Linked DNA regions of Homo sapiens: regions 2, 3, 4, 5, 6 and 7 are each linked to region 1. Evidence: promoter capture Hi-C in 16 types of primary human blood cells and fetal thymus (Javierre and others, 2016). All regions are on one chromosome and are shown on one strand. Each heading gives the region's core, a stretch centred on a gene start or on the middle of the fragment in contact. The rest is flanking DNA. Distances are from core to core; before and after follow the strand shown.

Region 1 (4,356 bases), core at 265-2,764:
GTGGCTCACGCCTGTAATCCCAGCACTTTGGGAGGCCGAGGAGGGTGTATCACAAGGTCAAGAGATCGAGACCACCCAGGCAAACATGGTGAAACCCTGTCCCTACTAAAAACACAAAAATTAGCCGGGCGTGGTGGCGAGCGCTACTAAGGAGACAGGCAGGAGAATCGCTTGAACCCAGGAGGCAGAGGTTGCAGTGAGCCGAGATCACGCCACTGCACTCCAGCCTGGGCGACAGAGCGAGACTCCATCTAAAAAAAAGAAAGAAAAAAAATACCAGGCGCGAGGCCCTCGCCTGTATTTGGCGGACTGACAGCAGAAGGAACACTTGAGTCCCAGGAATTTGAGATTTCAGTGAGCCATGACCTCGCCACTGCACTCCAGCCTGGGTGACAAAGCGAGACCCCGTCTCAAAAAAAGAAAAACAAAACCCAAACAAAAGTATTTCTGGTGATCATTTGCTCCTGTGAATATAATAAATGTTAAACTAACCTTTTTGTTGTCTTTATGGGTCTTTATCAATACCAGAACCTGGTAGTTCTTTGATCAACTAAAATCTCCATCCTAATAAAATGCTGTTGTCAGAACTACCCAGATTCACTGGCAAAAATCTAATCACTGACCCAAACCTGTAATTCCGCGCATGCTAATGAAATTAAGCAATAATTTACATAATTAATCCAATCAGCCATTGGATTGCATTAAACTCAGTTAATGAAGAGGTCAGATACCATTTATTGGTATCATTTAGTCAAGCACCTATCAAACTCCTTCCCCACACCACACTGGACAAAACTAAAGTTTTGGTGTTTTAGAGAATGTGCCAGCCTAAGTTTAAATTGTTTTTGTTCTGGGTCTTGGTACAGTCATTAAAAGATTTAATTAAGCAGTTACAAAACGGAACTACTTTTTGGAAATACTAGCAAATACGTTGTTCTACTGTATGTATTTTTACACGATCCGAAATAGGAAAAATGACCCATTGGAAATGAGTTTAAGACTACGACTGACCTACACAAATTCTAGGTCAGATTATCTTTTCATTGGGGGAATCTTAACATGATTGGTTGAAAACAATAAATAAAAGTGGCGCGGAGGACGAGCGCAGTGGCTCACGCCTGTAATCTAAGCACTTTGGAAGTCCGAGGCAGGCGGATAACTTGAGATCAGGAGTTTGAGACCAGCCTGGCCAACATGGTGAAACCCCTTCTCTGCTAAAAAAAAATTAGCCGGGCGTCGTGGCAAGTGCCTGTAGTCCCAGCTACTCCGGAGGCTGAGGCAGAATCGCTTGAACCCGGGAGGCGGAGGTTGCAGTGAGCTGAGATCGCGCCACCACACTCCAGCCTAGGCGACAGAATTAGAAGCCGTCAGGTAAAAAAAAAAAAAAAAAAAAAAAAGTGGCAGGAACCAAATGAAGATAGTATTAACAACCAACCAGGTTTTTCCTACAACAGTTCTGACCAATCAGGATCAGATCATCGTTATAAATTCTGGTAGAAGCCACTGCTCATTCAGCTGCTTGCTTTCAGAGCATAGCTTTCTCAACTATGGCCCGGACGAAGCAGACAGCTCGCAAGTCTACCGGCGGCAAGGCACCGCGGAAGCAGCTGGCCACCAAGGCAGCGCGCAAAAGCGCTCCAGCGACTGGCGGTGTGAAGAAGCCCCACCGCTACAGGCCAGGCACCGTGGCCTTGCGTGAGATCCGCCGTTATCAGAAGTCGACTGAGCTGCTCATCCGCAAACTGCCATTTCAGCGCCTGGTGCGAGAAATCGCGCAGGATTTCAAAACCGACCTTCGTTTCCAGAGCTCGGCGGTGATGGCGCTGCAAGAGGCGTGCGAGGCCTATCTGGTGGGTCTCTTTGAAGACACCAACCTCTGTGCTATTCACGCCAAGCGTGTCACTATTATGCCTAAGGACATCCAGCTTGCGCGTCGTATCCGTGGCGAGCGAGCATAATCCCCTGCTCTATCTTGGGTTTCTTAATTGCTTCCAAGCTTCCAAAGGCTCTTTTCAGAGCCACTTACATTCTCACTGAGGATAGCTGTCACACCATTGGTCGACTGTCTTAAATCAACTTTAAAGCAGGGATAAACTGGCGGAAAGTCGTCAAGGGTTGTTCATTCTGATTCCTTGCAGTGTCCTTTGTCTTCTAAGACGGTCCTTTTCACTTGTCCTCTGTGACCCATCTCACAAGGGTCTCACTTTCTCCGAGGAAAGTCAGCAAATCTATATCCAAGGTCAATCCGCTTCAAGGGGAAAGCCAAAGTCCTTCCTGCACATGCTGTCCTTTGGGGATAGCATCTCCAGAACCCCATAACTAACAATTAGATTACAGGTTAAATGAGATGCCATTTTTAACTGAAACGGGCACTGCCCTTGGGTCCCCTGGAAGCTTGCTGAAAATCACGGACATGAGGCCGGTTGATTTAGCACATAGACACGGGAGACTTCAAAATGAGGACCCACCCACCAATGAGATACAGAAGTTTATATATCACCTTGAGATTATAGAAAGAGTGCAAGCTTGGAACCTGGGAAAACAGATTATAGGAGGGAGAAAGGAAGAGACTTGGCTAGCAAGGGGGGCGGGTCTTGTTATGTAGATGAAAACACATAGCTAGTAGTCCTCAGAAAAAATAGATGGTAAATGTCTCTTGTCAGGGTGGGCGTGGTGGCTCATGCCCTCCACTTTGGGAGGCAGTGGAAGGAGGATTCCCTGAGCCCAGGAGTTTGAGATCAGCCTGGGTAACAGCAAAATCCTGTCTCTACGAAAAACAAATAAAAAGAAAGGTGGGTGTTGCAGCGCACAACTGTAGTTCTAGCTGCTCAGAAGGCTGAGGCAGGAAGATTGCCTGAGCCCACGAGTTCAAGGATGCAGTGAACTATGATTGCACAATTGCACTCCAGCCTGGGTGACAGAGCAAGACAGTCTCTTAAAAAATAAAAATAAAAAAGGATCAGACTCTCAGTTAATCTCTCCTAGATCCAGGAAAGGACTAGAAAGGGAAAGCCTGGCAACAAATGGAAATTTCCCCCACAAAAGACTGATTTGCAGGGCCTCATCGGTCTCCGGGCCCTGAGGCAGCCATTTCAAAATAGGGCAAAGAAATATCTTTTGGGGTAAAATATTTTTATTTCCTTCACTTTACTTTCCTCAAGAGACTGCTTTAAAGGTTAAATGCAGTAATATATTCTAGGGCCTTGGACAGTGCCCCAGAAAACACATTAGGTACACAAAAAATATTTATTGAACCTGATTTTATCTCTGAATCTTAGTTTGGAGTGGCTCTTGTGGGAGACTAAAATATGCCACCCCGAAGTATACTTTGTCATATTTCAAGATGGCTATTCAGAGAAACTGCAGAAATAGGAATAGCTCTGAAAAGCTCTTTTTTGTAAAAGAATTGTATACCTATCAAGGAAATCTACATTAGTAAACAGTGGATGCAAGTACTGGCTTTCTCTGAGGCTCCCTTTCCTGCCTAAAGAGGAATCTAAGACTGACTCAAAGGAGAGAAAACTACTTTGTCACAGGCTGTCAGCTATTCTGCGATTACCTGAGAGACTTTATCTACATAACAAGAAAACCTTTGCCTTTCCTCCCCTGGTGCCTTTGCCCTTCCTCCTTCACCCTCCTACAACATGTGTCACCACCTCCTCCAAACCCCCAGAAGTCTCAAGACCTTTTTTCTTTCTGTAGTCTCAGAATGGCATAAAAACGTCAATTATTTGGCCCTTCTGAGAGAGAAATAATATAGGGTGGTCACAAGAGAATAGAAGATTCCATGCAGTAGTTTCACATGACTAGCAAAAAGGAAACTGTTGAAATAGCTGCACAAACTAGGAGCCAAAGAGACCCTGAAAACCGAAATGTTTGCCAAGCTGGCTAAGTCCTACTTGACCCAACATGGCACTGGATTTGACCTAGCTTTCACCTGGGACCTTATTATACACTTATTAACATACAAATCAGACATCCACCAACACCATGACAGTTCCGAGAACACCCATATTTCATGGAAAAATGGATGGCACCACAGTTCTGAGAAATTGTCACCCTTTTCCAGAAATCTTCATGGATATTCCACCCCTTGGTTAAGGAAACCCATAAAGTTAGAAGCCCCAATCACTCCTGGGCAAGACTGACTCTCTTGAGTAAGCCTGCACTTCCCTTCCTTGAGCATGTATTTTTCACTTTGCAATAAACCTCTGTACTTTTTCTGACTTGTCCTTGGATTCTTTCTGGCAGCAGTGGCAAAGGCCTGGACACTGGCTGGGATCAACATCCTAATGGCATTTGGGTACCTCCCCTAGCCCACCGGTATCATTTCTTGGAGTACTGTATTTTGTGAGG
Region 2 (4,356 bases), core at 1,145-3,644, 1.6 Mb after region 1:
ATTAATACAAAAAGACCATACAAATTCATTTAATAGTTTTCTGTGGCACAAGAGGCTTCATTGGAAAATGAAGATACTACAGTGCAGTGAGAGTGGAACACTTACATGCTGAATTAGACAGAAAGTGGTAAACTATGTAAATGTAACAAGGCAAAGGGGCTTGGGCTTGGGTAGTTACTTGGGTAGAGAAGTGGCTGAGAGGATAAATTCTCATTTAACAAGATTTGTTTACACAGATTTCCCTCAGCCTCAGTTACCTTAGAAACTAGAATGAATGATACTGTCATTCTAGTTTAGGGAGGACTTATTTCACAGAGGAATTTAATATTCTGCTTTTAAGAAACAGAATGAGAGTCAGAGTGATATTCTTGCATCTGCTATTTTTCAAGTGCCTTTAACTCAAAATAGTCACTATGCCAGAGGGGCATAGTTTTTAACTCCTTCAGAATATATCTCTTCTAATATAAAGTATAATTTACTTATATAATCTACTTATTCATTTTGTGTTTTCTGTGTTGTCTCCTCCTCTCTTCCTTCAACTCCAAACCTCTTGAGGACATGGGTTTTTGTGTACTTTTGTTACTGTGTTCCTAGATTGCTAGATCCTATATTCTAGAATCCCAGTACCTAGCACAGTGGCTGGGGAGAGAAGCAGGCACAGGGTAGGTGCTCCATAAACATTTACAGTAGTCCCCTTTCTATCTGAGGTTTCACTTTGTGTGGTTTCAGTTACCCATAGTCAACTGAGGTCTGAAAATAGGTGAGTAATGTACAATAAAGTATTTTGAGAGACAGAGAGATCACATTCATATAACTTTTATTACTGTATGTAGATTGTTATAATTGTTTTATTAGTTATTGTTGTTAATCTCTTAAAATGCCTAATTTATAAATTAAACTTTATCATATGTGTGTATGTATAGGAAAAAACATGGTGTATATAGAGTTCAGCACTATCCAAGGTTTCAGGCATCCACTGGGGTCTTGGAACATAACTCCTGTAAATAAGGGGGGCTACTCTATTAAATTCATGAATCTCTTAATCCCCTGTGCAACTGGACCCAACTCCCAGTGTTTGTGATACACATCTAGAAATCTTTCTTCTTGATTTATTTTCTTCCAGTTGCTTTTTTTTAATCCAGCTCCAAAAGATGTTTTTCATGTTATTTATTTATTTATTTTCTGAATCCCACTCTCAAAGCAGAAAGGCTTACACATTCATCAAAGGGTGCATATATTTTTATTTGGTGGATTTGGGACAAGTTCCTAAATCACGGTGACCATTTAAGACTCAGGATGTCCACAGATTTCCCTATCTTTTTCAGTTTTCTCCCTTTTGGCACTTCCCAGTCTGGAAAGTCTCTCTCCTCCTTTTGGCATTCTTTGCTATCAGTGCAGTAGAGAAAGAAAGAAAAAGAAGAGAGAAAGGGTTATGACAGGCAAATTTTTATATTCTTGCATCAGAATTTCCACTTTCATTAAATGCTTGAGGGAGGCTGTGGGGCCCCTGGAAAAAGTCTTGTTCATCCTCTGGTACACAGGGTTACATACTGATCAGAGAGAGAGGAGGAAGCTTTTTCCTGTTCTTAGAATCAAGAAAAAAGGTGGGCTATGTAATTCTCAAGTATCACTGTATTCATTTTAAAAGGTTACTCTTCTTTTGAGGTTATATCCTTTTTCTAGTTTATAAAAGGATGCTCAGTGCAAATGGTGGGTTTTGCCATTAACAAGGCAGAACATGGTTTTGCATGACATTAGGACATTGACACTTTCTAATCCAATAAATTTCAAAGTCTGGAAACCAATGCTCAATCCCCACATTTTTTATACAACTTGGAATCTACAGATGACTAGAGGAAACCAGAATCAAACAGAGCTATGGAAGAAGCTGGGGACAGGGAGAGGTAATTATTACTAATTTTAATATTCTTTGCTTTGATCTAGAAACACACTTATGGACTCCATGTGATTTGAATCAATGATCTCATCTGGATGGAGTCAAATGTCTTATGTTTCATCATGATGTCAGCAATTGGAAATTACTTTTCCTTAATCCTAAATTATTATTAAATTCAGGCACACAAAATGTTATTTAGGAATACAAAATGTTTTTTATATATTTTGCACAGCTGTGTTCCCTGTCTTTTCCTGTTTGCACACACACACTGTAACCAGTTGGACTATTTTAATTACCTTTATATTTTTGCTTTGCAATATAAAATTCAATATTAGGTATTCTCATCCTTTTGATGGCAACACACCCACAACAAAAAAGTTAAAATGGAGAGTAAGAACTAGTAACATAGGCTTCAGCAGCTGCCAAAACTCCTTGGTACACGCGGATGTAGACTAAAAAAGAAATGTGAAGAGTTTTTGGCCTAGTGCTAAATCAGAAGAAGCAACAGGTTTCCTACTGTGCTAGCCACTGGGGCCTGGCATTAGTCTGAGACGCTACAGTTTGAGACAGCTTGGCTTATAGATCTGAATTTCTTTTTTTCAAGGAATTGAATCCTTGAATTGAATCTAAGCCTACAAAACCGAAACGCAGGTGCTTAAAATCCAAACTTGGGGAGAACCTGACAGCTCCAAAGTAGTAGATGGCTGTATTTCAGTTTTGACTTTCCAGTCTTTCTTCACTCTGTCACTTGTTCTCCTAAGGCCTTTGAGAATGTCTCCTTCTTCCCTTTAAAGGAGAGGAGATGGAAGAAAAAAAGGATTCAGAAAACCCAGAGAGTGTATGATTTATTTTTTTCTTGGAATGAAATGGGTAATAAAATTTTCATGCCCGAAAACGAACCCCACTTAACCACGAAGGGATTCGAACCCTCAATCTTCTGATCCGAAGTCAGACGCCTTATCCATTAGGCCACGTGGTCCCCCGCAGTTCCGTTGTTGCTGCAATACTTAGAAAATAAAACGAGCTTCCCCCCACCCGCCCCCTCCAACCCCCCGTGTTGGCATCTACAGCGCCCGTGTTTTCGCCAATGAGAAAATGAAAACTTTAGATTAGGTGGGATATTTGGGGCCACAGAATCGGGATTTATAAACGGTTGGTATCGACAATTATTTTAGTCTTGTGGTAATATAACTACTCCTTGGAGAGAAAAGTCGTTTGTTCTGACTCCCAAGGCAGAAGAAGCGGAGTTTATGGCATCTAAAAGATGCTAAAATTCTGCATATTGTCTGCATCGAAGGATATGTTAAAATAAGCTTACTCAAGGTTTCTTCCCTATGATGCTCATCCACATTCACCATTTACAGACTAGGTTCTTGCAGGGTCTGCCCAGATAGTTGTTAAGAAAACTGTACCTGGAAGGCAGTTTTACCACAAGGCAACATCTGTACCGTGGTCTTTCTCGCCATCCTGCATGGATATCTGCAGACCCCGGAGACAATTACCCCCTCTCCATGCTGTTCTGGTACTTTCTCTGATTGTGATAATGTGATATCAGAGCACTTTTCGTGGTATGGTTCTGTTTAGAAAGGAAAGAAAATACTTTCCTTGGGGTTTCTCAGGAGTGCCGAGCGGACTAGAGCCATTACCAGTTTTTGAGGTTCCCATATATTAAGAAGTGAAGGAACACGAAATAGAAATGCAAAAATTTTTATTATTAACAATTTTTACATTTAATAGATGAATCAACACGAAAATGTAATGCATTAGCATCATACTATGGAGAAGATATTTATAGAATTTATAATGTTCCGTAGCGCTCTTGGCCCCATCATGGCATATAAAGTTCTATTTTGTGTGGCTTCTTTCAAGCCTGTCAGTGAATCTCTGTGAAGTCAAGTACTTCATTTGAAGATAATGTCAACAGCCTACATATAAGACATTTCCTTAATTTTCCTAAACCCCAGATACTGGGAATAATGGCTCTCCTGGCTCATTTGTGATAAGTCTTGGTTTCTCTTGGTTAGCAAATATAGCGGCTTCTGGTGCATAGAAATTGGGCCTTTTACATAGTCTTTCTTTCCCTATCCATAGAATAACATCTGACAAATAGTAGGAGCTCAATAAAAATATGCCGAATTTCTCATTTATTTTCGAATTCTGCAATCATCTTCAATGTGAGAATTATTATTATTATTATTATTATTATTATTATTATTTTTGAGACAGAGTCTCACTCTGTGGCCTAGGCTGGAGTGCAGTGGCACCATCTCAGCTCACCGAAACCTCTGCCTTCCAGGTTCAAGCGATTCTCCTGCCTCAGCCTCCCAAGTAGCTGGGATTACAGGCGCCCACCACCAATGCCTGGCTAATTTTTGTATTTTTAGTAGAGACGGGGTTTCACTATGTTGGCCAGGTTGGTCTCGAACTCCTGACCTGAGCTGATCCTCCCACCTTGACCT
Region 3 (4,356 bases), core at 733-3,232, 1.6 Mb after region 1:
AAGAAAAGACAGTTATGTACTAATGCCGGGGAAAAATAAAAATTGCAAGGAAAGGAAAACTTAACAATGTATTTCTTTGCCCACTTGTTGAATTATGTTTATAAAGTTGTCATATTTTAAGCTACAAATATTAAAGTATCATGTATTGTGCTATAACCATATGAGAAGACTTAGAAAGGGAGCATGTGTGTGTCGGGGGTCCTGGGGTGTGAAGAAGAAAGTGAACCAGTTACTCCTCTTATATAAAGTCAACAGAAGGTCCATACAAACATATTATTTAGAGATATGTAGGTAAATAATTTTAAAATAAGCTATTTAAATGTTTAAAAAGTAGGCTTAACCACTCAGCCACGACTATAGGTGCCAAAAGTTTTCTTAAACGTCGTACATGTTATTATATGTCACATATTGTACCTCTCGCTTTACCAGGAATTTAATAGCTGAGTTCACGTCCTGCCAACAAAACTTAGAAGGAATCAACAAACTTCAAGTTCAGGCGCATATGTGGTAAGCTGAGAATGTTCTTTGGGTGTTTTCTATAATGCAAATCAGGAATATGTTTCAATAACTTTAAAAATTGCTAGAGGACAGGGAGCAGAGAAGAGACTTGATTTTTGTTTCAAGTGATTCTTGAAATTATGAGTATGCGAAAAGGATAGAAAAGAAACCAAAATTGTTTGCTATCTAGAAATTTTCTGTTTGTGAATTCTCAATCGTAACTCTCACAGAATGACACAAGGTTTTCCCAAACGGACGTGGTGGCTCACGCCTGTAATCTAGCACTTTGGGAGGGCGAGGCGGGCTGATCACTTGAGATCAGGAGTTCCAGACCAGCCTGGCCAACATGGCGAAACCTCCTCTCTATTAAAAATACAAAAATAATTAGCTGGGTGTCGTGGCACATGCCTGTAATCCCAGCTACTCTGGAGGCTGAGGCTAGGAGAATCGCTTGAACTCAGGAAGCAGAGGTTGCGGTGAGCTGAGATCGCGCCACTGCTCTGCAGCCTGGGCGACACAGTGATACATCTCAAAAAAAGAAAAAAAAATTCCCCTGTATTAAGTTTTATCAAGCAATGTGAAAATTGGTCAGTTCTGAAACTTATCAATTTAGTGATGTGATTTAAAAAAAAAAAACTCTTATGTATGTAAAACAATAGTGAACTGAAGCTGGAGTCTATATTATAAAAATTTTTGTCATCTTGTGTAATTCTTTTAAAAATTAAAATGATAAAATACATAAAATGTATATGAGTGCCCAGGGAAGGGGCATTTATGTAAACCTCAAAGTTTCCACTAAAGTCGAACGAGCCAGCCAGGAGTCGAACCTGGAATCTTCTGATCCGTAGTCAGACGCGTTATCCATTGCGCCACTGGCCCTCTGACGAACGAAGACAGGCGTTATACCTATAGAAAAAAACGTTTTGGGATTACCGCGTCCTCCTATACATGAATATATGAAATTTTATTTCTTTCTGATCATAAGGATTTTGAACCCAAAACCCTCCAATTAAAACAAAATATAGTTTTATTTGTTCCTTTGACTTGTTTTACTCATGAAGTATGATTCCTTCGTGGGTAATGAGAAATCCATCCTTGTGCACAATGATTCCTTCCTGAACAATGAAATATCCATTATGATGTAACTTGTAAAAGATCAGAGATAAGGTTTACTTTGGGCAATGAGAAATCCATTTTGAGGACCTCTGAGACATAAATTGAAATTGTCCTGCCCTGAATCCCCAAGAAATCCATTTTGATGTTAACTTGTAAAAGATCGAAAGCCTTTTTACACGTGAAATATCGATCGGTCGGATGAAACCTGCTTGAAGATGCAAAAACCCACTGCCGTAGTCGGCAGGATTCGAACCTGCGCGGGGAGACCCCAATGGATTTCTAGTCCATCGCCTTAACCACTCGGCCACGACTACAGATACCAAAAACCTTATTAAATGTCTTACATGTTTCCATACATCACATATTGTACTCCTTTTATTAGGGATTTAATAATAGCTGAATTCGTATCTTAAGAATAAAACTTGGAAGCAATCAACAAACTTCAAATTCAGGCACATACATGATACGCTAAGAATGTTCTTTGGGTCTTTTTTATAATGCAAATCAGGAATATGTTTCAACAACTTTTACAATTCTCATATTTTTGCCTAGTAAGAAAATTATCCTCAGGCCGGGCGCGGTGGCTCACGCCTGTAATCCCAGCACTTTGGAAGGCCAAGGCGGGTAGATCATGAGGTCAGGAGTTTGAAACTGCCCAACATGGCGAAACCCCGTCTGTACTAAAAATACAAAAAAATTAGCCAAGGTGGTGGTGCACGCCTGTAATCTCAGCTACTCGGGAGACTGAGGCAGGAGAATCGCTTGAACCCAGGAGGCGGAGTTTACAGTGAGCCGAGATCGCGCCATTGCACTCCAGCCAGGGCGACAGAGCAAGACTCCGTCTCGGGGGTAAAAAAAAAATAAAAAATAGATTAAAAAAATAAAAAGAAAGAAAATTATCCTCAGTAAATAACACTGATGTTCCACAGAGATCCCCTATATTTTCTGACAAAGTCCAGTGCCTGCGATATACTAACGGCTCAACAAATGTCAGTACAATTGTAACTATCATTGTAAAACCCCAGAATCTAGATTCATCAAAAGGTTCTTCAGTGAAGATAGGCTTCTGTCTTTTCATAAAACTCAGAATATTTTAACCAGCTGAAAGAACATTTCTGAAAGAAACTAGAAAGTAAAAAATATTTTTGCTGGTCAAATCCTCTTTCGTTTATGGGGCCTTCTCTCACAAGGGGAAGAACAACTGCATCTGATATTCTGTGAATAGTTTGAAATTATATTCAAAGACCACTTCCAAAGGAAGAGCAGAACCCCAGGTTCTAAAACTGCACTACCATTACCACAATACTATGCGTGTGTGTGTGTGTGAGTATTAGTGAGCAAGTCAGGGATTCTGTATTTCATCAATGGCCCAACTCTATGAACAGAAGAAGGGTAAGGAATGATTGATGAACTACTGCTCATGTGCGGATGGATTGAAAATCGTCTCTACTCCAGATCTCTCTCCTCTGGGCTCCAGAATATACAGTTGTCCTATTTTTTTTTCTTGCATGTCCATGGGCATCTCAAAAGCAATGCAACCCCAAAGGAATGTTCCATCATTTTCCTCAAACTTAAATTTCCTCCAACAATCCAAATTTTTGATGAGATACCAAAACCGAAGACTGGCTACCAAGACCGAAGACTACCCTTGTCCTTTTATGTCTCTCTGATTCCCTTCCCAGCAGGCCCTCAATTCAACCTTCTAATTAGCTCTCAAATCTGGCTCTTCTTCCCCAGCCCTCAGACCACCTTTTTTTTTTGTTTTTTTTTGACGGAGCCTCGCTCTGTCATCCAGGCTGGAGTGCAGTGGCACGATCTTGGCTCACTGCAACCTCCGCCTCCCGGGTTCAAGCAATTCTCTTGCCTCAGCCTCCCTAGTAGCTGGGATTACAGGTGCGCGTGCCACCATGCCCAGCTACTCAGACCACTTTTTAAAATGAGGTACTTAGTTTAGGTACTTAGAAGTACTCATGAGAAACTTCTCATTAAGTTATTGCAACAACTTCTTAGTCTTTTGGCCTCCAGTTCCTGATCCCTTAAATAATATATTCATTTATTCATTCTTCCAAAAATTTTATTTTTTTAGAATAAAAATAAGCACTTTGTATATGGGTAGTGAGACAGAGAATTGCCTATTTTTTTCAAATTCTTTTTATGTGAAATAGCAAAAGCCAAGCACTTTGCTAGGTACTGCTCATTCAATGGAGAGCGAGATTTCTAAAGGATTACAGAAGTTAACAATAAAACAACTGAGTGCAAGTGAGAAGTGCAGCCCTAACACAGTAAGTAGCCCACAGAAAGAGTTCTGGATCTCAACCACAAAGGTTTTAGGTGGTTGCCTGGAGGGTCACTTAGACTCCAAGCTTCACGAAGAAAGGTTCTAGTTTTACCTTCTTTACCTCTGAGTCCTCCATAGGTGCTTAATTAAGTATTTTTGGAATGAATTATACTTAAGCTCAGATCTGGATCTGAAGGATGTGTTAAAATGAGACAAATTGGTGTGGGGTGAGAAAACGGGGTAGGGTAGTGTTCCAAACCTAAACCTCAAGGAATATGGGAGAAACTGAAGAAAGTTCCCTCTAGTTGAAACATTGCTTTTTGGAGGGGTACTGGGAAGGGCATTGATGAGAGATAACACCGGAAATGTAGTTGAGGGCAGATTATGTAAGTAGAGCTAAGTTAGCACTAACCCAGAATGTGTTTCTGACTGTGTCCCTTACCTCCTTTAATGCCTTTAAGGTA
Region 4 (4,356 bases), core at 1,173-3,672, 1.5 Mb after region 1:
CCAGGCTTTACTCATCTTTTCTTTCTTCCCTTCATAAAGTTATTCAACAAATATTTACTGAGCACCCACAATGGGCTGGACCCACTATGGTAGAGTTAGGAACACAAAGAGGGTAGACAATAGGTAAAGGCTCTACAAGTCACAAGCTTGATGATCTCAGTCATGGGACAAAACCATTTCAACTTTAGTTACTCAAAAATATCGAGTATGAGACTTAGAATGTTCACAATTGGCCCAGCAATTCCACTTCCTGATGGTTACTTCAGCGAAGTACTCGCATGGGTGCAGAGAGAAGCCTCTGTGGGAATGACACTGCAGCACTATTTTTAAAGTATAAAAGTGGTTACCAACTGAACCAGCCACTCACAAGAGACTGGTTAGAGGAATGATGGCTCATCCCTAGGAGGAAATTCAATGCAGCAGTTAAAAAGAGTGATTTAATGTCACTAGCCTGGATAATGGAGATATACTAAGTGATTAAAAAGCACCTTGCAGAACTATACTAATGATTCAATTGAAAAACAAAAGCAAAGCTATACATTTCTGCATAACTATATATGTAAATGCCTGAAAAAGTCTAAAATGATGGATGCTAAACTGAAAATTGGAGGTTAAGTGAGTGAAAGGACGCTTTGGCCTTTTGCTTCCTTTACTTTTAAAATTATTGGAATGCTTTAAGTTTAAAATTTTCATGTATTAGTTAATAACTAATTATTATGAGGAATAATAGTGACTGGAACATATTAGCTGCTCAGTAAATACTAACTCCTCAACAGTTTCTCCCAAAACAAAGGAGCATGAGGCCTGCAGCCATCATACCAGCTGCTGTGGGTCTGGGAATGGCCTCTGAGAACAAGGTCTGCAGATGGAGGTGGGGAGAGATGTAGAGGAAGCAAGGGAACAGAGGTCTGTGCAGCTGGTCATGCTCCACCCCTGCCTGGATCTTGCATCCACCATCAGACTAAACATTATATTTCACCACATCTTCTGCTCCTCGAAACTGCTCTTTATTCTCCTAAGGAGAAGGAGGTATTATTAAGCTAAGCTAAAAATTTCTCTGCTGTCCTCAGAGGGAGAACTTTTATTTTTTAGGTTATTTATTATTCATTCTTTCTACTATAGACAATTTTGCCAAAGAAAAAAATATAAAGGAATAAAACCTTAAATACTCTGTAGTTATATACTTTGCTAATGGAAGTGGAAATGTTTCTGGAAGCATTTGGCCATGTACACATGGCAAGTGCCTTTAAAATGTTGTATTATTTGCCCCCAAAATTCCAACTATAAAAGTTAGTGTTGAAGAAAAAAATTTAGAGATTGATGCAAATATTTATGGATAAGGCTGTTCAATCTAGTAAAATCTACAGTAACAAAATGTAGAAACTGAAAAATCCAAAATAAAGAGTTTTAAAAATAATTCGGGTTTTTTATTTGTTTGTTTGTTCTTTTTTCTTCTTTAGGAGCGGCTTTCTGAGTCAGAGTAGGCTCACAGAGACTCCCAATAATTATATATTCATACAATGTAGTAGCTTGTAACCATGGGAAATCATGCTTTAGGTTTTGGGGAAATGATGAATGGAAAGAAAACCAAGTACTATCCCTAAAAGATACCAAAAATGGTTTAATATAAGGATCCAGTGTTATTAAAATTATAAAGAATTTCACTTAATTAAAATTATGATTCCTAATGGTTACATGGAACATGTTTTATGACTGAACCATGCATTGTTTGTCTATTCCCCACCTGTTGAATATGTATGTTGGTTCAGATTTTACTATATTATAAATACTTCTGTAATAAACACATTTACATATAAATCTATGAGGCACATCTCTTTTTTCTTCTTCTTCTTCAGAATTTCTCAGAATAGATGCCTTGAGTTGGCCAGAACAGATTTTAAGGGTTTTTTGTTTGTTTGTTTGTTTGCCCTTTTCTGACCACAATACGTTAAGAACATGCAGTTGGAATATTTCTTCATTCATGTTGTCTCCCTTTCCTTCCACTAAATCCCAACCTCTGCAGTTCCTTATACTTTGCAGTACTTCTCCCGTCTTCCCACGTGCCCATATGTGCATGTGCGAGTGTGCACATGTACACATGTACACACACACACACACACACACACACACACACACACACACACAGGCACTGCACCCCTTTCTCTGGGAGAGTACTCTCCCTGCATGCCCACTCACCACTCTCAGCGATTCAGCCCCGCTCCTCCCATGCGTTGTAGCCCAGGCTCTAATCAATTTCCTGCACTTACCCCTTGGTATTCCCATTGGAGAATCAGAGCCCACAGAATAAAGACGGTCAATCAATAATTCTCCATTCTTTCTATTATGGCTTAGCCTCTCATCCGGAAGAAAGGAAAAAGAGAAAGCAAATATTGTCTTCTCACCATGAGAAACAGTAAGAGTCGCTCTTTGGAAGAATTAGTTTTTTGATTGGCTCAGAGGTGATGTTTCTCATCAGTTGCTGGGCAGAAACCACTGAGGAACGTTGAAATGAAAACTGAAAGTACATTGAATTGTACACGTTGAGGAAAAACTCCAGCCCTACCTCCCTTAGTGTTTGTGTTTCTGTGTTTATCTATTTGAATCATTCTTGTGCGTGGATGTATATAAGTATTTCTTTATATTCACCTGTCTCGTGTCTTTTACATGGTAATAGAAATATTAGCAGAATGGAGTAGGAAAGTAAAAAAATTTAATGTGCAAAGAGAGGAAGATGTGCACTAATTAAGATGCTTCTGTGGCAGTTTGCTTGCATGTAGATAGGTACGTAGAAGAGGAGGATCTTTTTTACAGAGCCTAATAAAGGTATGAATGGAAAGAAAATGAGACAAACTGCACCTCTTTAAGAACTTCTGGCATTTAGGCTTAGGATATGGTATCAAATAATATAATTTTTCTGATTTCCAGAGGCAGTGCTGCTTGACATTGTTTTACCTTTCCCAGGAAATTCTTACTGCAGATCTTTCTGAGCATCTTCATTCACCCTCAGCTCCTGGTTTGTGCTATATTGTATTTTCTTGGGTATTTGTTTCTCACGCTGCCAGTGGAGTACATATTCTCTGAAGCTAGACACTCCATAGGCTGTGGTCTCTGTAAGGCTCGTTTCCTGTACACCATCTCTGTAAGGAGTTTATGGGACAATCTTGTTCTCCCTGTGGCTTACGACCTCAAAACACACTTTTTTGGGCTGCAAGCCAGAAATCTCCTAGAGCTAATATGTGACTGGAGCTGATGGGATTTGATTATATTGCAACAGTTTGAATTTAGGCTGTGTGGTATCTGCTTGAGATGGCTGGTTGCTTCTGCAGCGTGCATGCCCCCTTCTTCTTAGTGACAAGGCCTAATTTTCTGGGGTACTGCATCCTGCTCTTCCCCCTTGAAGATAGGGCAGGCCAAGGGACTAAGTTGGAGCCAGCGGTTTGTAGGTGAAAGTTGTGGGCTTGTACTTCTCCCAGAAATCCTTCAAAGGGAGGCCAAAATAGCTGGGAGTGTGAGGGTACACTCTCCCTTCTTCCTTCTTCCTCTTGCCTAGAACATGGACTTTGGACCCGGAGGTGCAGTAGCCCACCCTGGGACCATGAGGCAGCCTTGAGGTTGGAAGCCACACACTGGGACAGCAGAGAATGAAGTCAGAAGCAGGCTGGGGCATGAATGACATATCTGAGGTGCCAGATCAGCCCTGGACTGTCACCATCTAAATTTATTTAAAAAATTTTTTCTTTTAAAATATTTTATTATATATTAGTACTCAGGGTAAATTTCCAAATAAGTTTGTTTTTCATGAAAGGAAAACAAATCCTTGTTTTATTTAAGCCAGTGGTACTTCTGGTCTCTGTTATCAACAGAAAAACACAATTTTTCCCTCCCCCTTCCCCCTCCCCAACAGTTTATTATAAAACTTCTAAAACATATAGCAAAGGTGAAAGAATTTCAGTAAATTCCAATATATCTACCATGTAGATTGTATAATTAATATTTTAGTTTCTTACTTTATTATAAATCCATCCTGCTGTTCACCCCTATTCATCCATCAATATTTGTTTATTTGTTCATTTGTTTATTTTTAAATTCAGACTCTATCAGAAGCTGTGCTGCTTGAGATCGTATTAGTAAGAATGAACATCCCACCTTTGCCTGGAGGGTCCAAGTCACTTTGACACAAAGAAGCAGCCAATGTGCTAAGCTTCAGATTAGGAGTTTCTGAGCCCAACTCTTCATATCTCTGAACTTTGTAGTTTCCAAACTATGAGACCCCTAAGTTCATTTCTCACTCAATGTCTTTGTTTCTTCAGCTATGGGTAGGGATGTGACCTGCTTCTTAAGTTGTTTGGGGAGAAC
Region 5 (4,356 bases), core at 797-3,296, 1.4 Mb after region 1:
CATCATAAATTTTTCCCCTCAATCCAGTACATTTTTCTTTTTTCCTTGTATTTATTTTATTTTATTTTAATTTTTTAGAGATGAAGTCTCACTATGTTTCCCAGTCTGATCTTGAACTTTTGGGCTCAAGTGATCCTCCCAACTCAGCCTCTCAAAGTGCTGAAATTACAGGCGTGAGCCACTATGCCCTGCTGATCCTGTACATTTTTTGAGTTCATTGTACCAATAGTTCCTCCATTAGCTTGGTTAAACATTCACAAAACAAAACAAAATGCCCCCAAATGTGACAGCTGAGTCCTTGTAGGAAAAAATCCTTAAGTGAAGCTTAGTATCCTGGGGTTCATTGCATATTCATATATACATACTTGGGGACCCATGCACTAAAAAGACAGACTCCTTTTGTTTACAATAATTCAGCCTTTGCTGTTAAGGTGATTAAGGCAAGTAGGTGTGGGTGGAGAGATAGTGACAAAGGAAGTGAACTAGAGGAATAAAGATCAAAAGATGGGAGGAGGTCACTAGGTCACAGTTAAGCAAGGGCAAGCAGGCAGGAACCAGCCCTGTTGCACTGGTGTACTTGGTCACCTGGGCAGGGTGTTGACGGGCTGTTGTGGGGATGTTGGGGACATCTAGAAAATATGGAGTTGAAAATTTACAATATACATATGAATCTTTAAGGCACATCTCTTTTTAGAACCTTTTGGAATATGTTCCTAAACATAACCAGGAGATATTTTAGGAGTCTTTTCGTCTCCTGGCTGGGGGCAGTGGCTCATGCCTGTAATCACAGCACTTTGGGAGGCCAAGGTGGGTGGATCACTTGAGGTCAGGAGTTCAGTACCAGCCTGGCCGGCCAGCCTGGCCAACATGGTGAAACCCCGTCTCTATTAAAAATACAAAAAATTTGCCAGGTGTGGTGGCGTATGCCTGTATTCCCAGCTACTCCGGAGGCTGAGGCCAGAGAATTGCTTGGCTGGGAAGGTGGATGCTGCAGTGAGCCGAGATTGTGTCACTGCACTCCAGCCTGGGCAACAGTGAGACTCTGACAAAAAAAAAAAAAAGGAGTCTTTGCTCCTTTCTGACTGTAATTAGTTCCTAAGAACATGCAGTTGGAAGGTTTCTCTATTCAGGTTGTCCCTCTTCAGCCAAATCTCAGCCTCTTCAGGTCCTTACTCTTTGCATTCTACCCTCTCCATCCTCACCCCTTTCTCTGTGCCAGTTCCCCTCTCAGCTTTTCAGTCCCTTTTCTTCCAGGCCTTGTAGCCCTGGCTCTAAGCAATTTTCCCCACTTACTCCTTAATATTCCTATCTGAAAATCATAGCCCACAAAAAAAGGTAATCAATAGTTTTCTGTTGTTAATAAAAACTTTAGACAAATTAAATTTAGCAGGGTTTAATTTGAACAAAGAACAATTTGCAAACCATCAGAACGATCGGGCAGCCATCAGAGAGGTTCAGTGAGCTCCATTCCACAAGGGAAGTGACACACAGAAACAGCTTAATTGGTTACAGCTCAGAGTTGGCCTTATTTGAACATAGTCTGATCACTTGGCTGCAGGGTTGACTGCCGCCGACTGAAGTTCGGCTACTGGGATTGGCTGAGACTCAGCTATTTGTTACAAAAGTATACTCCCATGCCTTAAGCTTTCAGTTAGTTTACATACTAAGTTAGGTTGCAGTTCATTATTTAAGGGCTCAAGAGCCATCCCTCAGGCTAAATGTATACATATCTCATACCAAATTTAGTTTAATTTAACACAATTATTTCTGCTTTAGTTAAGATTCTCTGATCCAGAATAAAGGAAAAGAAAGCATGTGCTGTACACTCGGTCCGAGAAACACTAAGAGAATCCTCTTTGTAGGAATTCGTGTTTTGATTGGCTCAGAGGTACCATTTCTCATCAGTTGCTGGGCAGAAGCCACTGGGGACGGTTAGAATGAAAACTGAAACGATATTGAATTGTACACATTGACGAAAAGTTTCAGCCCTACCTCTCAAAGTGTTTGCAGCTCTCTGTGTTTACATATTTGAATCATTAATGTGTGTGTTACGTGTACAATCAGTGTTTCTTCACATTCAGCTGTCTTTTATATCATAACAGAAATATCAGGAGAACTGAGTGGAAAAATGAAAAGATTTTAAGAAGAGAAGATAGGTATTAATTAAAATGATACTGTGGCAGTTTGCAGACATCCCCTTGCATGTAATTGTTACATGGAGGATATTATCATCTTTTGTTTTGGATATTATCATCTTTTACCACAGAGCCAAATGAAAGTATGAACATAATGAAAACTAGATCTATTGCATCTATTTTAGTACCTCCAAAATTCAGGTCTCAGATCCATTACCGAATTATAGAATTTTCTGGTATCCAGAGTTAGTGCTGTCTATAACTGCATATTTTATATTTTTCACAAAATTATTTTGGGTGTGACTGAAGCTTTCTTCACCTCTTGCTCCTTATTTGTGCCATACTGTATTTTCATGTGTATTTGTTTCTCACTCTGACAATGAAATATGTTCTAAGGTTAACCTTTGGGTAGACTGTGGGGGATGTCTTTGTAAGGGGTCCTTGCTACAAACCTTGGGACCTAGTGATAGCAGACAGGAGGCAGTCAGATGCCTAGGCAGGTAGCAATGGGTCCCCAGTGATACCCCACCTCCAAGCTGAAGACAGTTTAAAGCCTGAAAGCCAAACTACAAGGTAAATCCTCAGCCCAAATTGAGAACTTGTTGAGAACTTGTCTTCCTGTTTGGTGCACTTTCCTCTGATTGGTCCCCACCCTTCAACTACTTTCCATATACCCACACTTTCCTAATTGTTTTTTTACACTGTTGTGGCCATCTTTGAGTGGTGTCTTCACTTTAACCTTTTTTGCATACTCACAAACCATTCAGCACACACTTCCCATTCTGAGTCCATAAAACAGGCCTGGACCCAGCCACACAGGGGGAGCTTTCCTGCCTTCAGGTAGGGGTGCCAGCATCCCCTCTCTGCTGAGAGCTGTTCAGTCGCTTGATAAAATTCTTCTCAGCCCTCCTCACCCTTCAACGTCTAGTGTATCCTCATTCTTCTTGGGCATGGTACAAGAGCTCAGGAACTGCTGAACGTGGGTATAAGCTATAACACAGGTGAGCTGGGGCATGCCAGTTTAGCCAAGCGAGGCTTGGGTGGGGTGTTGCTGGCCAGAGGTCCCCTGCTTGCAAAGTGACAAATAAAAATCCTGTATCACTAGCACTTGCAACTTTAGTTGGGTCACAAATAAAATATAAAGGCCTATCATTTGTTTATGTTATAAAACAGACCCTTAAAGTAATTAAAACTCCTAGGACTTAGCTGAAACCTTGGCTGGTAGAAAATGATACTACAACAGTTTGAATTTAGGCTCTGTGGTAGAGTTGGCTGGCTGCTTGTTCAATAACAGATCTACTTTTCTCAGTAATAAAATCCCATTTTCTTATTGCAAGGTGTCCATCTCATTTGTAGACAGGGGAAGCCAAGGGACTAAGTTTGAGCCAATTGCTTGAGGGTGGAAGTTTATCAGACAGATTATTTAAGGGGAGGCTAAAACAGCTGGTAGACCCTTACACTCCCCTTACTTTCTACTTCCTCTTATCTAGAATATGGACTTTGGAGCTGGGCAGCCCTTTTGTGACCATGAGGCAACATTGAAGATGCAAGCCACATGCTAAGACAGAAGAAAATAAAGACAGAACTAAGCTGGGGCATGTATGACATTTCAAGCTCTCAGATCAGCCCTTGATGGCCACCATCCATATTTATTGACATGAAAAGAAGTCCTCATTTTGTCAAAGCCAATGATATTCAGGACTGTTATTAATAACAAAATACAATTCTTCCCTCTACCCACTACAGTGTATCATGAAACTCTTCAAACATATAGGAAAGTTGAGTATGGAATCTCTATCTCCAGCCTTGAGGTCTCACCTGGACTCTTGGTTATTCAATGGACTACTCTGCATCTCCATGTGCATCTCTAATATAGACTCCTCAACCTTAATGTATCCACAACTGAACCTTTGGTTCTGTACCACTCCCGTCTTGCTCCTTGTCTCTCCGTTTCCCCATCTCAGAAATTAACAACTTCATCTTTCCAGTTACTTTTCCTTCCTTCCTTCCTTCCTTCCTTTCCTTCCTTCCTTCTCTCTCTTTTCTTTTTTGAGAGTCTCACTCTGCCACTCAGGCTAGAGTGCAGTGGTGCACTGCAACCTCCACCTTCTGGGTTTTAGTACAGACAGGGTTTTACCATGTTGGCCAGGCTGTTCACGAACTCCTCACCTTAAGTGATCCACCTGCCTTGGCCTCCCAAAGTGCTGGGATGACGGGCGTG
Region 6 (4,356 bases), core at 618-3,117, 1.4 Mb after region 1:
GTATTTCCTATGAATTTTAGCAAAAAGATATTTACAAATTGGTATTTTACTACCTCTACATTTAATATACATCGGGCACTTCTAAACATCTAGATAGTCTAAATGTTTCAAGTAAGGAGTTAATTTGTCCACTATGTATGTACACAGCAGTCTCGAATAAACTGCAAACATGTAACAACAGTTATAATTTGAAAGAGTCTTCCAAATGTGAACATTCTGGCCTAGAACCCTTCCCATCTCCATCAACCCAGTGGGCAAGAATGCTCAAATTTTCAGAAGACAGTCTTTCCTAGGACTTGTAAAACAAAATGTACAAAATATATTAGTTTACTAACTCTAGTTTTGTTATACACTGGCAACCTCTTTAACATCCAGAAAGACTAGATGTTGTAAATTAGGACTCGTTTGTCCTTTATGTACATTATATACATAGATAAAACAAAATGCACAGACATAGTGATTCATCTTGCCTCGCTGTAAGCAGGATGGCATAGAGCTCTCTGCACCTCCCCCTCCTCTCTCCTCCCCTGAACTACTGCACAAACACAATGAGTATTACTCAACAGGTGATTTGGCCATTCCCCCCAAAAAACAACATTTCTATGAATTGTAACAAAAAGATATTTACAAAATGTGGTTTTACTACCTCTAATTTTAACATATATCAGACACTTCAGAATATCTAAAAAGAATAGACATTTCAAAAAAGCTTAGCATTGTCAACTACATACATAGTAGTGAGGAAGCGAATGCACACAAAACAATGGATAGAATATGAAAATGTCTTCTAAATATGACCAGTCTAGCATAGAACCTTCTTTTTTTCCTTCTCAGGTCTTCGAGCTCCATGTCATCTAACCCACTGAACAAACGTGAACGTATCGCTTCTAGAGGCCGTCTAACAACTCAGTTTCCAAAAGTCAACTCCGGAAGACATGTATTTTCTATGATTTCTTTTAAACAAATGAGAATTTACAAGATGTGTGACTTTCTAACTCTATCATACGTCGGCAACCTCTTTCCATCTAGAAGGGCTAGATGTGACAAATGTTTTCTATTAAAAGGTTGGGGTGGAGTTGAGAGCAGCTTTTTCATATTATATACACAGGCCTTCCGTAAACGGCCTGTGAATCTTCCCAGAGGATGGAGGGCATTTCCAACGGGCCAAACGTGGCCTGTCATTCTACCATTTGTCTCTTCCGACAGCAAGGTCTGGTAGTACGGAGACCAACCGCCCGATCGCCGCTAACCGTTCCACCCGTCGTCGTTCGGGACTTCGCTCACCTCCCAGGCCCGTTAAGGCCTTTGTCCGTTGTCGTTAGGACTAGGTAGGTCTCGCCCAATGGCGACAGAGTGGTCACCCGGGACCCAGATCTGGCGGCTCCGTGGCCTGAAGAGGCGGCCGAGCCTGCCTGCGTCCCTAGGCCGCCTTCCCGGGCCCTCCATGCCCTAACGCCCTCCGCCGCGCGGCGTTCGAGCGGCCGCCATGCTTCCCGGCACGCTACTCCCGCCGCCACCCAAAGGCGCTGCGTCCAGGCTGCTCGGCGGGGGTTTCGTCCAGGCCCGGCAGGCTTGGGCCGGGAGACCCGACGGCCGGCAGGGTCCGGACTGGGAGAGGCCGCCGCCGCCATCAGTCACCGAGGTAGGGTAGGGAAGAGACGTTCGCCACCGCTTCAAGGCCTGGGCCCAGCCAGTGGGCAGCCACAGCAGAGGCCTCCGGTATCTGCAGGGCAGAGGGCGCGGCCTGTCCCGGGGCGCCCCCTAGCTCACCCGCCGACCCGGGGCCGGAGGGCCTGGAGCGCCCTGGAGGAGCGGCCCGCGCTCTGCGTCTCTCCGCGCTCTCTGCCAGACCGGAACTCTTGCAGTGATTTCTTACGGGGAGTAAGGATGAGGTGGGGAATGAGACTGAAGAAATGGAATTAAAAAGATAACTATAACTAAATAAAGAGGAGCCCTGCAGTAATGTAATGAGCCATGAACTGAAGAGTAACATTTATTCAACTCTGCCTGTGAAGGAGGGAGAGGGAAAGACAACTAGAGACAGAGGAGAAACGGAAAAAGGAGGTGAGATTTCAAAACACCGGTAGGTTCTGAAATTATTTTCGGAGTACAGAGTACTTTTTGCTGTCCTTGGAGTGGCTAATAAAAACAAAGAGTGCTTTTATTCCGGAACTCGGAAAATTTATTTTTTAAAAAGAGAGAAGACCATGTCACAAAGAGCAGGTAGGAAAACGTAGCGTAAACTTAAACTCGATTTGTGTCTAAATACTAAAAGTACGAACTGTCAGGAGTGGGATTCGAACCCACGCCTCCAGGGGAGACTGCGACCTGAACGCAGCGCCTTAGACCGCTCGGCCATCCTGACGCGCTTATGCTACATTGTGCTCAGGACTCACTTCTGTCTCTTGTCTAAACGCTATTAGTTCCCCATCCACCAGCCGCCCCCCTACCCCATGTCCCCACCCCCGCCCACCCCCTTGTTGTTCTTTTTCTCAAGATATGGGCATTCCTGGGTTAAAAGGTAAGCCGCCTCTCCGCGAACTGCCTCGGACGGCGCTGCATAGGACCGGTTGTCCGGGCCACAGAGCGGCGTCTCCCGAGTGAACGCCGAGTCACTCCCAGGCTGCGCGGGGAGGGCTGCGGCGGGTGGGGCGGCGGGCGAGGGAGGGCGGGTCGGGGTAGGGGGAGCGGGACGGGGGCGGGGGCGTGGGAGGGGCGGGGCGGGCGTGGGAGGGGCGGGGAGGGGGCGGGGCGGGCGTGAGCCAGCCCAGGGCCGAGTGACTAAGGCGGAAGACGGCGATGGCGCTCTGCTCTCAACTGAATTCTAGTTAAAATAATGGCAATCCTGTTGAACTCAACATTACTAGAATACCTGGCTTAAATTTACACTTAATTCCCAGGAAGTTTTAGGCTTGCTCCAGTTTTTGCTGGAACAAGGTGCTCGCTAATCCTTCTCCTTTGCGTTGTGCTGCAAATCTCCCAGCACGTGGTTACCCTTGGCAGGGCCGGTGGAGGGGACAGGAGCGTGGGAAGCCTGGCTTGTCTTGCCTCTCTGTCGGAGTTTATGGAGGATTTGCGCACTTTTCGGTGTGGATGTTATACTGTAATAAAAACTTTAAAAAGCAAAAGCAAAAACAGCAACAACAAAAATGGGGAGTAGCTTATGTATTTTACTAAACCTGGCGCAGCGGGTACTTGATAGAAGGCCTTGAGCACAACAACTTTTCTAAACATAAACAAAGGTCAGAGGTGACCTACTTCAAATTTTGTTAGCAAGGGTTAGCAGTCAGGATGCCATGGTCGGAATATCACTGACTGGAAGTCAGGGGACCTGAGTACGAATTTCAGACAGAACTAGAACTGGTCACTACCTGGAGAATCTTAGATAAGTCATTTTGCTTCTGTGGACATTAGAAACAGCTTTCTTAGACACCTATAATACTTTCATCGTGAGTTCAATTGATAGAATACAATGTTTAATCCCTTAAATTAAGCATTAAATCCCCATCTCCAGGGAATCAATTAGAGGCAAATTCTGTTCTTCTCAGGCCTACCGATTCAGAAGTTTTGCTATGTCCAACATGGTGACTATAGTTAATAACAACGTTATTGAATACTTGAAAATTGCTAAGAGAGTGGATTTTAAATGTTCTTGCCACAAAAAGAAAAAGATAAGTATGTGATGTAATGGATATGTTAATTAGCTTGATTTAGCCTTCCCACAATGTACACATAGAACAAAACATCATTTTGTACATCATAAATATATATATCTTTATTTGTTGATTTTAAAAATACAAATAAGTAAATTAAAAAGTTATGAGGATAGAGTCCCACAGTAAGTGTTTAATAAGTCCTCTGCAAGGCCTCTAAAATTCAGTCACCTCTGCTCTTTTCACAGGGTAGTGGTGGATACCAACTTTGGAGATGAGGAGAGAGGCAATTCATCCAACATATAGGAAATATTTATTGGGTACCTACTATGTGCCAGGCAGCATTCTAGGTGCTGGTGATCCAACAGTAAACAAACAGACAGAATAAGCTCCACCATCGAAGGGCTTACACTATAATGGGGCAGTGAGCCCAAGAAACATGAAATAAAATGGACAGAGCTGTGCTCCCTTCGGCAAGCACTTACACTAAAATTGGAGCAATGCAGAGAAGATTAGCATGGCCTTTGCACAAGGATGACAGGCAAATTTGTGAAGCATTCCTTTTTGAGACGAAGTCTCGCTCTCGTTGTCCAGGCTGGAGTGCAATGGCGCGATCTCGGCTCACTGCAACCTCCTCCTCCCGGGTTTAAGCGATTCTCCTGCCTCAGCCTCCCTAGGAGCTGGGATTACAGGCGCCCGCCAC
Region 7 (4,356 bases), core at 1,305-3,804, 1.4 Mb after region 1:
CTCATTTTCACCTCATCCCTAGCAAACACAAGGCACATTTTAGCAGCATCTTTTTGATCACTCGATGGATACGGAACTGGGTTTCTGGGAGGTAGTTCTAACTTGGGTTTTAGCCTCAATCCCACCCCGAAATCAGAAGGTTCCCCTCTCCCTCCCTGCCTCTTACTTAAGGAGAGATCGTGTTTGGGGGTTGGAGGGAAGATCTGGAAGAAAGTTAAGAACACCAAGCTTAGGAAGGAGAGAATAAAGGATATAATTAAAATACAATAAAAAATGCACAGGCAAATGCTGGGCGTGGTGGCTCACGCCTGTAATCCCAGCACTTTGGGAGGTGGAGGCAGGTGGATCACTTGAGGTCAGGAGTTCAAGACCAGCCTGGCCAACATGGTGAAACCCATTTCTACTAAAAATACAAAAATTAGCTGGGTGTGGTGGCATATGCCTATAGTCCCAACTACTTGGGAAGCTGAGGCAGGAGAATCACTTGAGCCTGGGAGGCGGAGGTTGCAGTGAGCCAAGATTGTGCCACTGCACTCCAGCCTGGGTGACAGAGCAAGACCCGGTCTCAAAAAAAAAAGAAAAAAAAAAAAAGATTCACAGGCAAGATGCAGTGTGCTACAGAAGCAAGAGGTCACATGGTGTCAGTCACTCTCCAGGGCGTTTGTTCTTCATCTTCCAAAGTATTAGAGACGCAGCATGAGTTTCCACGGAGGTTAAGTGAGAGAGACTGGGAGATGCAGGGGTAGAAAGGAAAGATGAGAAAACGCAGGGTGTCTAAAAGGGTAGGTTTGCTGCTGCAGCTTGCCAGAATGCATCTGCTTTAAAGAGAAGGAGTGAGCCATAAGCTCCCAAACAGTCACCCATCTGTAAAGGTTGGTTAGGGGCACACTCACCTTCCAGGCTAAAGTATTCCTGCTAACTGGGATCGGAGAAAGATGAAGAGGATAAATCCTTGTCATCTCCTAGGACCCTGGAACCTTTGCCCCCTTTCTGGGCACCATAATAACTTGCTTATATTTCTGAGTAGTACAGAGGGGATTTTAAATGAAAATGTATTAGACAGGTTGCTGTTGAGCACATGCCCAAGTTTATTGTCTTGCTAACCAAGATATTATCTTGCTAGCCAAGGTGTTGTCTTGTTAAGGGAACCAGCAAGATGACAAAAGAATGGACCTTTCAAGTCAACGTCTACCCAAGCAGCCTGTTTAAGAAAATGATAAAAAGAAAACAGCTCATTAACATTGTCCTTTTCTTTCTTTTCTTTTCTTTTTTTTTTTTTTTTTTTAATTTTGCGGACCCACCAAAGAATGCAGCCCTTCTTTTCTCATGGTCATAAAAATATCACATTCGGTTGGGCGCGGTGGCTCATGCCTGTAATCTCAGCACTTTGGGAGGCCGAGGCGGGCGGATCACTTGAGGTCAGGAGTTTGAGACCAGCCTGGCCAATATGGTGAAACTCCGTCTCCAACTAAAAATACAAAAATTATCCGGGTGTAGTGTTACACACCTGTAGTCCCAGCTGCTCGGGAGCCTGAGGCACAAGAATCGAGGTGGAGGTTGCAGTGAGCGAGATCGCACCATTGCACCCCAGCCTGGACAACAGAGTGAGACTCCGTCTCAAAAACAAACAAACAAAAACAAACACATCACATTCTTATTAGTCATTTGAGGGAACCTGGAGCAATATGATCTGAGAGGCTAGGCTTGGCTAATCCCTAGAAAAAGTAGTAATACATCTAAGAAAGAAATCCCTCTTAGGGAACACCCGAGGCTGCCAGGTGACACAACAAAACTTTCTCATAAAAGCGTTTGATTAATCCGATTAACTTGTAAGCAAGCCATGTGGCAGAGGTAAGAGGCCAAACACCAAGGCACCAGTCCTGATTCTAAACAAGTGCTGGTCCATTTCTTAACTTTGGGATCCATTTTTTCTTTGTGATGGAATAGCAAAAGGTCAAAGTGGAGGAGGACTCAGCCCTTGGGTGTCTCCTCAACGAGGGTTTCTCGAAGGTAAATTGGGGAGGAAGGGAGAGCCCACGGCAGGTCAGTCCAACCTGCCAGTCACCACCTCTTTAAGGCCACAGCCCTGCGGGAGCAATCCTTTCAAATCCCCTTCCTTCCTTCTTTTAGAACGCCCCTAGAACGCCGATTAGGACTTCTCATCCCGGTCGGGCCTGCGGCTCTCTGTGACCCCACCTCTGGATTCAGCTTTTCCCAGGGATTCACACTCGGAGCTCAGGAGAGATGCTGCGATTACTCTGGAGACGGGAAGACAGGCGGGGCTGACGGGGCCCAAGGCCCCTAATCATGACCGGGGCCAGCTGGCAGGAGGGTCCTAAGTATACGGAGGGCGGCGGGACCCCCCCCACCACGCCCCTCATTTTCCGGGGTAGCGCACAAAGTCTGTGAGGCACTTACCCGAGTCTCGTGGCCGTCCGAGGGGCGCGGGAATCCCAGCTGAGGCCCGTGACGCGCCGGAGCCCTAGGCGTGGGCAGGGCCAGCACCAGCCCTAAGACAGAGAAGACGAGCGGAGCCCGGCTCCGCCAGGAACAGGAAGGCGAGGGAAGGTGAGGATGCGCTTCCGGGGCTGCAGGCGGGGAGCCGCCCCGAGTCCAAGCCGGAGAGAGCTGGTTCTCCCCCTGGCGATACGTGTGTGAGCCTCTGAGGCCCGCCCTAAGCACTGCTGCCCCGATCTAGCAAGACAAGAAGACAGGAAATTTATGACAGCCTGAAAAAGTCTTTAAAAGATACACACTGGAAGAATTTCGTAGTAAGATGAGGAAAAAAAAACGTGTTTCCGCCCGGTTTCGAACCGGGGACCTTTCGCGTGTGAGGCGAACGTGATAACCACTACACTACGGAAACCCACTAAGGGCTTATTTTTCAGAGTAAATAGTTCTTCCTGCCTAGTTCCGTGTTTCTTCGTTCCAAGTGCGTGTTTTGCTGATGTGCGCGTGCGTCTCTGTACCGACCTCTCAAACCAGAAAAACCAATGAAAAGCTCAGACCCAGCCCCTCCAGTGTTCAAACTGAAGCCATAGAATTTATTCTACAAATGACTGAATAGGGAAGAACACAATAGAGACTTTAATTTAATCTCTGAACGGTCCTTCGTTCTTCGGCCAAAATGGCCAGGCAAGGCTGGGCACAACTTGGGTAGGGCGAGCGTTTCTCTGGCGTAGTTGGCGTTACCACGTGGTCAGTGGCAGAATGCTCCGCAAAGAAATGATAACCCCATATGTTGTCGGGAGCTGCCCCTCTTGCTTCTGAGTCTTCCAGGCAAATTTATCTTGCAGGAATTTCCTTACTCCTGCGGAGTCAGAAAGTTGTAAAACGACCCTGCTTACACCGAGCCAGCCAGGAGTCGAACCTGGAATCTTCTGATCCGTAGTCAGACGCGTTATCCATTGCGCCACTGGCCCTGCGCGTACCTTAGGGGCGAGGTATTTCATAAGAAACTAGGTTGTACCCGTAATATCTGGGTGAACGCCTGTAAGCCGCGTTTGCCCGCTGGTCCAGGCTCGCAGCGCATGGACTCTCTGGTAGCTACTTCTGCACACGCCCCGTGGCCTTCATTCCTTTCTCGGTCTGTCTCTGCCGGCTGAAAAATGGCGGTGAAAAGCAAGCCCTGCATCCTCTCTGCCCCAATATCACCGCTCCATTAATGCGTTCGTTCATTCAACCAGTATTAGTGTTCAAGGCACTGCAGATAACGGTGAAGAAAACATGAGAGACCCTTGCCCTCAAGATTACATGGCAGTGGCGGAAGCGGATAATAAAGCATTAAATAAACAAAATAATAGTGATAAGCGATTGGAGAAAAATAATAATAAAACAGGGAAAGAGGATAGGAAAGGCCAGCAGTGAAAGTGATGAATGAGGGATAAATGCTGATATCGGGGAAATGAGTGATCTGGAACAGGGAAAAATCGCTAGGGAAAAGGCCTGGAGGTGGAAGCAGGCTTGGGAGTTATGTTGAGGAGGCCGGTGCTCAGTGGAGAGGAATAGGAGATCCTGGGAGACCACCTCCAGCTTTATAGGCCCTTGTAAGGACTCTGGCCAGCTTTACAGGCTCTTGTAAGGACTCTGGCTGGTATTCTGTAGGAAACTGGAAGCCGTTGTACGGTGACGTGGTCTGAGTTTTCATTTGTCTCTCTGTGGGTCTTTTTTTTTTTTTCTTCAAATATTTTACTAAGCGAAACTGTGCTAGGCCTCCTCACTGCATGCTGCTTCTACTGCAGGGCCTTGATCTCAGAATTTGACAGCTTTATAAGGAGCATCATCAACCCGGACACTCATATGAATGTTCACTTTTTCACTTTGAAAGCAAACAAACGTCTCATATGTGTGTGTTTT

What was found. The method cuts DNA at HindIII sites, captures the fragments that hold promoters and counts their contacts. A CHiCAGO score of 5 or more calls a contact.
Region 2: a fragment that was not itself captured here is called in contact with the fragment with the promoter of H3C12 in region 1 in 1 of 17 cell types (activated CD4 T cells); the score reaches 6.2 in activated CD4 T cells.
Region 3: a fragment that was not itself captured here is called in contact with the fragment with the promoter of H3C12 in region 1 in 2 of 17 cell types (total B cells and fetal thymus); the score reaches 7.1 in total B cells.
Region 4: the fragment with the promoter of BTN3A2 here is called in contact with the fragment with the promoter of H3C12 in region 1 in 5 of 17 cell types (activated CD4 T cells, non-activated CD4 T cells, naive CD8 T cells and 2 more); the score reaches 9.4 in activated CD4 T cells.
Region 5: a fragment that was not itself captured here is called in contact with the fragment with the promoter of H3C12 in region 1 in 2 of 17 cell types (fetal thymus and total CD8 T cells); the score reaches 5.8 in fetal thymus.
Region 6: the fragment with the promoter of HCG11 here is called in contact with the fragment with the promoter of H3C12 in region 1 in 2 of 17 cell types (neutrophils and M0 macrophages); the score reaches 6.0 in neutrophils.
Region 7: a contact is called between the fragment with the promoter of HMGN4 here and the fragment with the promoter of H3C12 in region 1, in 6 of 17 cell types (activated CD4 T cells, M0 macrophages, total CD4 T cells and 3 more). The highest score is 8.7, in activated CD4 T cells.

Annotation. Positions count from the first base shown.
Region 1 is chr6:27,887,984-27,892,339 of GRCh38, reverse strand. It overlaps H3C12 (H3 clustered histone 12), which reads left to right and starts at 1,514. Exons shown (of 1, transcript NM_003535.3): 1 at 1,514-2,025. The coding sequence starts at 1,548. The coding sequence ends at 1,958. RefSeq lists enhancers at 1,542-1,761, 1,278-1,922, 1,982-2,281, 1,923-2,567, 2,568-3,212 and 1 more. The HindIII fragment of the contact is 2,915 bases long and covers 1-1,998 here.
Region 2 is chr6:26,298,197-26,302,552 of GRCh38, reverse strand. TRR-TCG4-1 (tRNA-Arg (anticodon TCG) 4-1) reads right to left here and starts at 2,876; the gene lies at 2,804-2,876. LOC124901287 (a long non-coding RNA gene) reads right to left here. Exons shown (of 2, transcript XR_007059520.1): 2 at 3,589-4,356. The HindIII fragment of the contact is 1,637 bases long and covers 1,576-3,212 here.
Region 3 is chr6:26,325,161-26,329,516 of GRCh38, reverse strand. It overlaps TRS-AGA2-1 (tRNA-Ser (anticodon AGA) 2-1), which reads right to left and starts at 1,928; the gene lies at 1,847-1,928. TRR-ACG1-1 (tRNA-Arg (anticodon ACG) 1-1) reads right to left here and starts at 1,377; the gene lies at 1,305-1,377. LOC101928743 (a long non-coding RNA gene) reads left to right here. Exons shown (of 3, transcript XR_241992.5): 2 at 430-507; 3 at 4,354-4,356. The HindIII fragment of the contact is 3,995 bases long and covers 1-3,979 here.
Region 4 is chr6:26,363,264-26,367,619 of GRCh38, reverse strand. BTN3A2 (butyrophilin subfamily 3 member A2) reads right to left here and starts at 2,422. Exons shown (of 11, transcript NM_007047.5): 1 at 2,268-2,422. RefSeq lists an enhancer at 2,415-2,464. The HindIII fragment of the contact is 4,055 bases long and covers 149-4,203 here.
Region 5 is chr6:26,471,463-26,475,818 of GRCh38, reverse strand. It overlaps LOC285819 (a long non-coding RNA gene), which reads left to right. Exons shown (of 4, transcript NR_038992.1): 4 at 3,626-3,875. It also overlaps a transcript of BTN2A1 not described here. Among named protein-coding and RNA genes, the nearest start is that of BTN2A1, 16 kb to the right of the region's middle. RefSeq lists an enhancer at 1,935-1,984. The HindIII fragment of the contact is 800 bases long and covers 1,647-2,446 here.
Region 6 is chr6:26,519,217-26,523,572 of GRCh38, reverse strand. HCG11 (HLA complex group 11) reads right to left here and starts at 1,867. Exons shown (of 1, transcript NR_026790.1): 1 at 1-1,867. It overlaps TRL-CAG1-7 (tRNA-Leu (anticodon CAG) 1-7), which reads right to left and starts at 2,365; the gene lies at 2,283-2,365. LOC107986583 (a long non-coding RNA gene) reads left to right here. Exons shown (of 4, transcript XR_001744057.3): 1 at 1-2,064. It also overlaps the pseudogene RNU6-502P. RefSeq lists silencers at 1,412-1,931, 2,162-2,761. The HindIII fragment of the contact is 10,867 bases long and covers 712-4,356 here.
Region 7 is chr6:26,536,564-26,540,919 of GRCh38, reverse strand. It overlaps HMGN4 (high mobility group nucleosomal binding domain 4), which reads right to left and starts at 2,554. Exons shown (of 2, transcript NM_006353.3): 1 at 2,419-2,554. It overlaps TRR-ACG1-2 (tRNA-Arg (anticodon ACG) 1-2), which reads right to left and starts at 3,422; the gene lies at 3,350-3,422. It overlaps TRV-CAC1-6 (tRNA-Val (anticodon CAC) 1-6), which reads right to left and starts at 2,866; the gene lies at 2,794-2,866. RefSeq lists enhancers at 1,934-2,343, 3,604-4,268 and silencers at 2,834-2,883, 3,277-3,570. The HindIII fragment of the contact is 7,010 bases long and covers 231-4,356 here.